3 separate regions of the Homo sapiens genome follow, and all the other regions are linked to region 2. Evidence: promoter capture Hi-C in 16 types of primary human blood cells and fetal thymus (Javierre and others, 2016). All regions are on one chromosome and are shown on one strand. Each heading gives the region's core, a stretch centred on a gene start or on the middle of the fragment in contact. The rest is flanking DNA. Distances are from core to core; before and after follow the strand shown. Region 1 has its middle 11 kb from the start of MOB2. Region 2 holds the start of MUC5B (mucin 5B, oligomeric mucus/gel-forming). Region 3 has its middle 38 kb from the start of DUSP8.

Evidence for each region. The method cuts DNA at HindIII sites, captures the fragments that hold promoters and counts their contacts. A CHiCAGO score of 5 or more calls a contact.
Region 1: a fragment that was not itself captured here is called in contact with the fragment with the promoter of MUC5B in region 2 in 1 of 17 cell types (M0 macrophages); the score reaches 5.7 in M0 macrophages.
Region 3: a fragment that was not itself captured here is called in contact with the fragment with the promoter of MUC5B in region 2 in 1 of 17 cell types (M0 macrophages); the score reaches 5.1 in M0 macrophages.

What each region holds. Positions count from the first base shown.
Region 1 is chr11:1,496,071-1,498,770 of GRCh38, reverse strand. No RefSeq gene overlaps it. Among named protein-coding and RNA genes, the nearest start is that of MOB2, 11 kb to the right of the region's middle. The HindIII fragment of the contact is 5,700 bases long and covers 1-2,700 here.
Region 2 is chr11:1,221,778-1,224,477 of GRCh38, reverse strand. It overlaps MUC5B (mucin 5B, oligomeric mucus/gel-forming), which reads right to left and starts at 1,412. Exons shown (of 49, transcript NM_002458.3): 1 at 1,285-1,412. The coding sequence starts at 1,354. RefSeq lists enhancers at 1-177, 178-873, 874-1,571. The HindIII fragment of the contact is 2,171 bases long and covers 546-2,700 here.
Region 3 is chr11:1,533,067-1,535,814 of GRCh38, reverse strand. No RefSeq gene overlaps it. Among named protein-coding and RNA genes, the nearest start is that of DUSP8, 38 kb to the left of the region's middle. The HindIII fragment of the contact is 2,884 bases long and covers 1-2,748 here.

The sequences.
Region 1 (2,700 bases), core at 161-2,660, 270 kb before region 2:
TCTACTAATTCTGCCATTCGGCCATTTATGGGACTTTTCCTGTGGATCGATTTGACTCCTAGGAAGGGATTATTTTCCTTTCTTCCTTGAACACGTGGTGATCTTTGATTACAAGCAAAACACTGTGACCTCTTGGCTTTGTGCTGATGCACACACAGGCACACGTGCACATGCATACACACACACATGCACACATGCACATGAGTTTTGTGAGCCAGCAGTGCTGTGCATGCACCCTTGCTGAGAAGAGCTCACATCCTCGAGCCACACCTGACCGTAGAGCTCTTCCGTTGTGGCCCCATGATGCCCCCACCACGGCTGCGACGCTGCGATGGAGTATAAATCGCTAAGCTCAGGTAGCTCTGCTGTTCCGAGGAGCCGGGAGAACCGATGGAAAGCTGTTGTTAGGGAAAAGACTAGTTGGAGTGTTCACGGGGCAGCTTCTCTCTGGAGAAATTCTGTGCATGTCTTTGATAGAGATTGGATTCATGAACTGATTTTAAAAGAAGGGTGAGTGATTTTGGTGGGTACGTGTGTTCAAAGCCACACCCACCTCAGCTGTAATTTTCCCGCATCACCCAGATGATTTTGAAGGAAATTCTGAACATGTTTCATCCGTGACTATTCTGTATGTCTGTAAAGGAGAGGGATTCTTTTCCTTAAACATAAGATGTTTCATTATCATACCAAAAGTAGTGATTTCTTCATAACATTGAGTATCAAGCCTTTATGTTTGTCTGGTGTCTCATGACTTGTTTTTAGAGTGTTGAATGTGGATTCAAATAAGGTCCATGCGTTGCACTTGGATGACAGATTTTGAAACTCTTTAACTTTCTATTTTGAAATCATTATAAATTCATAAGAAGTTGCAAAAATAGCACAAATTCCAGGGCCACCCTCAGCTAGCCCCTACAGGGACAGCACCTTACACACTGGAGCGCGACATTGGACCAGAGGTGATGGGCACAGGTGCCGAGTGGTGACCAGGCTGCAGGCTCCGCCCCATGTCTCTGGATCCACTCCACCCTTCCTGTTTGTTTTTTTTCCCATCCACTTACTTTGTTAGTGGAGCCTGCCTGCTCTTCCTGTGATGTCTCCCAGGGTCTGAATTTTGCTAATTGCATGCTGTGGTATTGTTTAGAACATTCTTTTTATTTCCTGTAAATTGGCAGCTAGATTTAGACCTTGATCGCATTCTCATTCTTCTTTGGAGGCCAGTTGGCTCCGCTGGTGGCTGTGTTCCACCACAGGAGGTGCATAATATCTCGTTGTCTTTTTGTGTTGTTTGCAGCTACTGCTGACCTCTGCCTAGAACCTTCCTCTCAGTATAAGGCCAGTAATCCTATCTGGGGGGCCCCACCCTATTTCATGACTTCATCTAACCCTGATTACCTCCAGTGGTGCCATCTCCAAATAGCATCACAACACTGGGGGTACGGGCTTCAACCTGTGAATTCGTGGGAATTCCATCCATGACAATAGCCTTTTGATTTAAAGTGTTACTGGTGTCTAATGGAAATACAATTTTCTTTCCTTTGTATGCAAACTTACCTTTTATCAAAGGACTTTCTGTTCGTCATAAGTCTAGTAATATTACTAGAACGCCTTGGTGTGAGTTGGTCTGAGGTGACATGTGCCTTTTCCATATGTAGTTGCAAGTGTTTTTTCCCTTTAATTTTGTCTGCCATTTTCTCTTAAATGCTTTCTCTCTTTCCTCCTTTGTAGAAACTTTTAGTTTTTCAGAAGTTGACATATAATTTACAAACAATGAAATGCACGGATCTCAAGTATTCAGTTAAGTGAGTTTTGATGAATATGAATTCCCCTGTAGCCCACACCCCTGTCAAGATGCAAAATGTTTCCGTCTTCCCGGAAAACACCACCACATGCCTTACCAGTCAGCCCTGTTTGCCTGCCACCTCCCCTCCCAACAGGCAGCCACTGTCTGATTTATTTTCATCAAGGACTAATTGGGCCTTTTCTAAACATCAGATACATGGAGTCTGATGGTCCCCGCTCTTGTCTCTGGCGTTTTCCCACTGACATCACATCTGTGGGGCTTAGCTGTGCATTGCATCTTGGTGGTGGTTTTATGCTTTGGGTTGCTGAGTGGTGTTTTGTTGTATGAATATACTGTCGTTTGTTGAGCTGTTCTTCTGTTCATGGACTTTGGGTTGTTTCCAGTTTCTGGCTATTGTGAACACTGCTGCTGTGAACGTTCTTGTAGGAGCCTTTATGTGGATGTATGTTTTTGTTTCTTTTGGGTCAGTACTTAGCCATGGAATTATGGAATCCTACATGCATATTTAACTTTCCAAGAAACTGCCAGCCCTTTTCCTCAGTAGTTGTGGCTTTTTCCTCAGTAGTTCCTCGCCCTGCCTGTAGCGCATCAGTCTCCTGGTTCCTGCCTCCTCCACACCTTGGGTGTTCTCAGTCTGTGCAGGTTTAGCCATTCTGGAAGGCGTGGCACTTGCTCTTGTACTTATCGGCCATTATTTGTCTTCTTATGTAAAATGTCTGTTCCAGTCTTTTGCCCTTTTTAAATGTTGAGTTGTCTCTTTTATTGTTGAACTGTAGACCTGCTTTCTATAGTTTAGCTAGAAGTCTTTTGTTGGATATATGCCATCCGTGGCTTGCCTATTCATTTTTCTTAACAGTATATTGAATAGAAGTGTGTGTATGATTAAATTTTGATGAAAT
Region 2 (2,700 bases), core at 163-2,662:
CCTCCCCCCCAGGCAGCCCCTCCCCTGCCCAGGCTGACTGCCCTTGGTTATCTGCTCCGTGCAGTGCCCTCCTTGGGCTGGACCACCTGGGCCTCCATCTTGTAGCCAGAGAAGTGCCCACCACCAGCCACCCCATCACTTTGGGGTGTGTCCCCTAACATGAAGCTGCTCTGTGCAGGGCTGCCTTCCCCGGCCACAGGACGTGCATCTGGTGACTAAAGCACAGTCCCTGCCAAGGGCTTGATCTCCCCAACTTGGACGTGCGTGGAGGACAGGAGGACGGGTGGGCTGAGAGTCCCTAGGCCCTGCCTGCTCAGGTGAGGGGAGCCAAGGCTGCATGGCCCGGAAGAATCAGATGCAAGGAGGTGGCTATTCTGGTCAAACCAGCCCCCAAACCTTGCAGCCAGACGCAGCTCCCCCCGGGCCCAGGCTGGGAGCCACTGGGGGAAGCCCCCTGCCTCCAGCCCTGCTGACCACCCAGCCTCCCTTCCACAGATGGAGAGAGACCCCAGGGAGCCTCACCTGCCCAGCCCAGACCCCAAGCTTGGGAGGGGGTGGAGGGCGGGGCAGGGAGGGGCTGCAGCAGCCTCATGGCCAGCCCGGCTGGGTGTCTCCCGGTGGCCCCTGGGGCTGCATCTTTCTCTATTGACAGTAAGTATTAATGCTGCGGCTCTGGCCAAGAGACAGCAGACGAGGGAAAACGCTCGGCTGAGAGCCAGGCAGCCCGTGCGGCATGAGATGCCCACAGATGGGCCGTGGGAGTCGAGCGTGGGTTGAGGCCGGGGCTCTTGCGGCTGGCTGTGCAACCCTTGAGGGTGGTACCCTCACCTGCCCTGCCAGCTGTGATCCCCAGGGAGGTCGTGAAGGGTAGAGCCGGTCCTGGACAGGGGTCCACGCTAAGCCTGCCCCTGCTCACTCTGATGCCTGGGCCTCATGGGGCTCCAGAGAGACCCCCAGCTGTGACCCCCTCCCCCATTGCCCACTCCTGTCCCACCCCCAAGACCAAGACCCTTTCGGTGGTCTCCCAGGGGCCTTGCCCTGCGGTCAGGGGCCCACCTTCTCCTGGACACCCCATCCAAGCCAGCCCCTGAGTTTCCTGACACTGTGAGCCCGTGGGGCCCCAGAGCCCTGTGTTGGGGACGGGTAGGGTCCCATCCAGGACACTCAGGGAGTCGTAGGGGGATCTGCCCGTGCACTCTGCAGGAGAAGCTCCCAGGCAAGCGACCTGCAGAGACCCCCGCCGTGAAGACAGCATCGAGAGGGGGCGGAGTGGGGGGCTCTTACCTGCCTGCGGCACCACGAGCATGGCCGCCAGAGCCAACACCAGCGTCCGGCACGCGCTCGGGGCACCCATCCTGGGGGCTGGCACGGGTGGGGGGACGGGGACGGGCAGGGAGGGAGCCGGGCCGGGTGCTTGCTCCCCTGGGGGCCCCAGCTTATGTAGCAGGGAGCCTTGGCCCCAAGCCAGGCCAGGCCACGCAGGGCACCATGCTCTTCCCCGCTCCAGCCACGTGTGTTTGCTCTCGGGGAGGGGCTGTGGCAGGGGAGAGGCCTGGATCAGGAAGGATTTGCAGCTCTGTGCCCTGAGGCCCAGGACGCCCCCACCCCCAGCAGCTTCTGAGAATCGGAAGGGAGAGAAGGGCCTACCCCACCTGGCACCCGTCCTAGATGGCAAAGCCGCTGGAAGGCAGGGCTGGCCTTGGACGCAGGGTCCATGGAAACAGTGGTCAGCCAGCCTGCCTCACACTCAGCCCCACTGCGGCTCCTGCTGGAAGGGAATCCCAGCCTCTGGGCAGCACCCCCAGCCACTGACCATGGGTCCCCGAGGCCCGGGGAGGGCCCACGAGGCTGGAGCTCCCCTCCCACCACTGCTTAGCCCACGGGGAGGCCGGGAGGCTCCTGCTGAGCTCAGGCATGCACATGGCCAGGATGCTCAGTCTGGGTGGCTTGTGGGGGTCCCTGGAGGAGGCTCTATTTCCAGAGACCCCAGCCCAGCTGACCAGAGCCCCTTGAAGACCGTGGGAGGTCTCTGGGCTGATCTGTTTCAAGGTTCACATTCAAGGGGAAACTGAGGCCCAGAGTGTCTCCTGGCCATGCACATCGGGAGTCAGCTGCGCTTGTCCAATGCCAGCCCTGATCCAGCCAGGCCAGAGGCTCCGGCCCTGAGTCCCATTTGGCCTCCACCTCACTCTGGGGCCTCCTCATTAACCCTGGCAGGGTTGAGGAAGCAGCTGCTCCGGGGGGTCCTGGACCTGCCCGGGGTCCTCCGCCTGCCCCAGGTGGGAGCCGCAGAAGCCTAGCACCTCCGGCTGGTGTCGGGTGGGCTTCCTGGGGGCTATGTGGTAAACCTCCTTGACGAGCGTCATCTACAGGACAGACAGCGTCATCTGCAGGACACTCCGTCCGCGCTGCAATACCTCTTGCAAACACCTCCTGCCCGTGTGACCTGCACCTCAGATGCTCCCACCTCCTGGCTCCCTGGTCACCAGCGTCCTGAATGCTCCGTGGCGCAGACGCCAGGCAGGAAGCACCAGGTCGGGTGGTGTGGCCTCGTCCGGCCCCATGGGGACCCTAGGGTGGTGTCCAGGTCTGTTGTTTTATTTACGTCACAGTCCCCGTCACGGGCCCTGCACCAGCTCCCCCGCGTTTGTCTTTCTGAAGTTAAATTCTTAGAGGTGGGATTTCTGGGACAAGACGAAA
Region 3 (2,748 bases), core at 67-2,566, 310 kb before region 2:
AGTCAGTGTTACCCAACGGAACGCACAGCCCAGGAGCAGCTGAGCATCTGGGAATACAGGAGAGGAAACACACTTCCTCCCCTCCCGACTGATGGGAATGTAGCCGCCCTCCTGCTGGCCCTGCACAGGGCCCAGTGTGGTGGAGTTTGTGGGGAAAGGCCCCTCTCCTCCAGGCACCTTCTCTGGCTGGCCACAGCCAGGGCAAGGGGGCACGTATCTCAGGCACCCTTCCTTGGGGCTCTCCTGGCTCCTTCTGAGGCCGCACGGTGCCTTGACACCAGTGCCCTGGTTACTCTCCAAGCAGCAGGTGAACTGTGGGTTAGCGGGCTCGGGCTGTGGCACCACAGTGCTGGTGATTGAATACAGACTGCAGGTGAATGGGGAGGGCCTCTCTGGGGCCGCTGGCCTGTGCTTACTGACTCAGCTCTGATTGAAGACAGACTGCAGGTGAGTGGGGAGGGCCTCTTTGGGGCTGCTAGCTTGTGCTTACTAACTTGGCTCTCCCAGCTGCCTTCAGGGGTCCTCCTCTCTGACCGAGATAAAATCTCGTGAGTGTGTGTCTCTGCAGGAATGTGAATGGAGTGATGATGACCTTGTTTTTCTTCTTTCTTTTCTTTGCCGCATGGGAGGATGTTACTGGTGGTTGACAATTGATTCTGATTATGAGGACACCCAGGCTGAACTTGCTTGAATCTCTAGAGTTCTTTTAACAGCCTCATTGAGGTATAATTTACATACCATAAAGTTAACTTAAGTTTGCAATTAAATAATTTTTGGTAAAATTACAGGGCTGAGTAACCATCACCACAGTTTAATTTGAGAACTTTGCTATCATGCCCCAGAGAAGCCTCATGTCCACTGGCACTGCTCCCCATCCCCACCTCCAGCCTCGAGGCGGCCACCAGTCTCCCGCCATCTGTGTGGGTGAGCTGAATCATGCAAATGGAATCCCAGTACACGGGCTGTGTGCCTGTCCTATGCGGCGCAGTGTTGCGAACGTCCATCCATGGCGTTGCGTGTGTCTGCAGCTCCGTCCTCTTCATCACCAAGTGCAATTCCGTCCTGGGGAGATGTGCATCTGCCACTCTCCTTCCACCACTGATCCGCGGTTTGTGACTGTGACTTTTAGGACAGTGAGCTGGGCCTGTTCCTCAGCCGGGGGCCCCAGATTCCTGAGTTCATGGGCTGCCGTGTACCAGGCTCTGTGCTGGGGCGGAGGTCCAGAGATGGAGACACAGCCATTCCCGCTTTCCTAGAGCTGTCAGGCTGGTAGAGAAGGGCCCCAGGCAGCAGGAGAATTGAGGAGTGGGTGAGTGCGGCCAAAAGCAGGGGGCTCGGTTAGAGCAGGTATGAAGGGCTTTTCCAAGAGGGAAGGAGGAAGGAGGTGGCCCAGGAAGAAGCAGCAGCACATGCGGAGGTGTGAGCAGAGAAGCCGGCTGGCCCAGGTCTGCTGTATCTCCAGCGGGCAGCCCTGGAAGGTCTGGTTTCAGGAATAGCCTCTTTCCATCAGGGCTCCACCAGGGCACTCTTAGGCCTGGGTTTCAGAGGTGTTTGCCTAGGGTGGTGTTGCATTCAGAGTCCTCTTCTTTAAAAAAAAGTTTTCCATCATCCCTCCCGTTTCCAAATTAACCTTAAAAAGAGCAGTGGTCGGCCAGGTGCAGTGGCTCACGCCTGTAGTCTCAGCAGTTTGGGAGGCCGAGGCGGGCGGATCACGAGGTCAGGAGGTTGAGACCATCCTGGCTAACACGGTGAAACCCCGTCTCTACTAAAAATACAAAAAATTAGCCGGTCGTGGTGGCGTGTGCCTGTAATCCCAGCTGCTCGGAAGGCTGAGGCAGGAAAGTCACTTGAACCCGGGACGTGGAGGTTGCAGTAAGTGGGGATGGCGCCACTGCACTCCAGTCTGGGTGACAGAGTGAGGCTCCATCTCAAAAAAAAAAAAAAGCAGTGGTCGTGGATACATGGAGCCCTTTTTAGAATGAGCCTCCCCGTAAACCCCTAGCGACACCCCTCCCATTTCTCCTGCTCGGACTGACTACTAGGAACCCTTGCACAAGTGTCCTTGAAGCTGGGGGTGAGCCCACCAGGGGAGCTGCAGACGGCCTCCCCTGGTCGGGGGCTGGTAGACAGCAGGGCTGCGTTTCTCATCACGAGTGTATCTGAGACAGCGCAGCCCCCACCTTTGCCACCACCAAGTGCCACCCTTGTGTCCTGGCTCATGAGGGCCTCTTCCCAGCCCTGGGAAAGCCAGCCACCCTAGGGGTCTGCCTGCCAAGTGCTGCTGTCAGATCGAGCAGGGGCTTGGTGTACCACCAGACCCCCTCTCCAGAGGAAGCTGTGGTCTCTGCTGCGGTCATCCGGTACGGGAGGAGGGGTGTTGAGGCCACTGTGAGGGAGGACCCCTGTGCCATGCCCCTGTCACCCCAGTGTTTCTCCTTTGTCCACACAGCGGTCTGGGTTAGAAACACCAGGGCCCACTGCAACTTTTGTTAGGGCCACTTAGTGCTGGTTGGGAGCCACAGGGCCGTGGCCTTTGTTTCTCCGTGGTGATTACTGCTTGTGCAGCCTCCTGCCAGTGCTAGACCTGTCTGGAAGGGAAGGGCGTGTGCTGTTCCCGTCTGTCTTTGGCCAGAAGAGCCTCCCATTCTTTGCCTTCACCATGTTTGTTTTTTTCTGCACAGGATTTCTCCTGGCTGGGGCACACCCATTGGTGTTCAGTGGAAGTAGAAACAATTGGAACAAACAAAA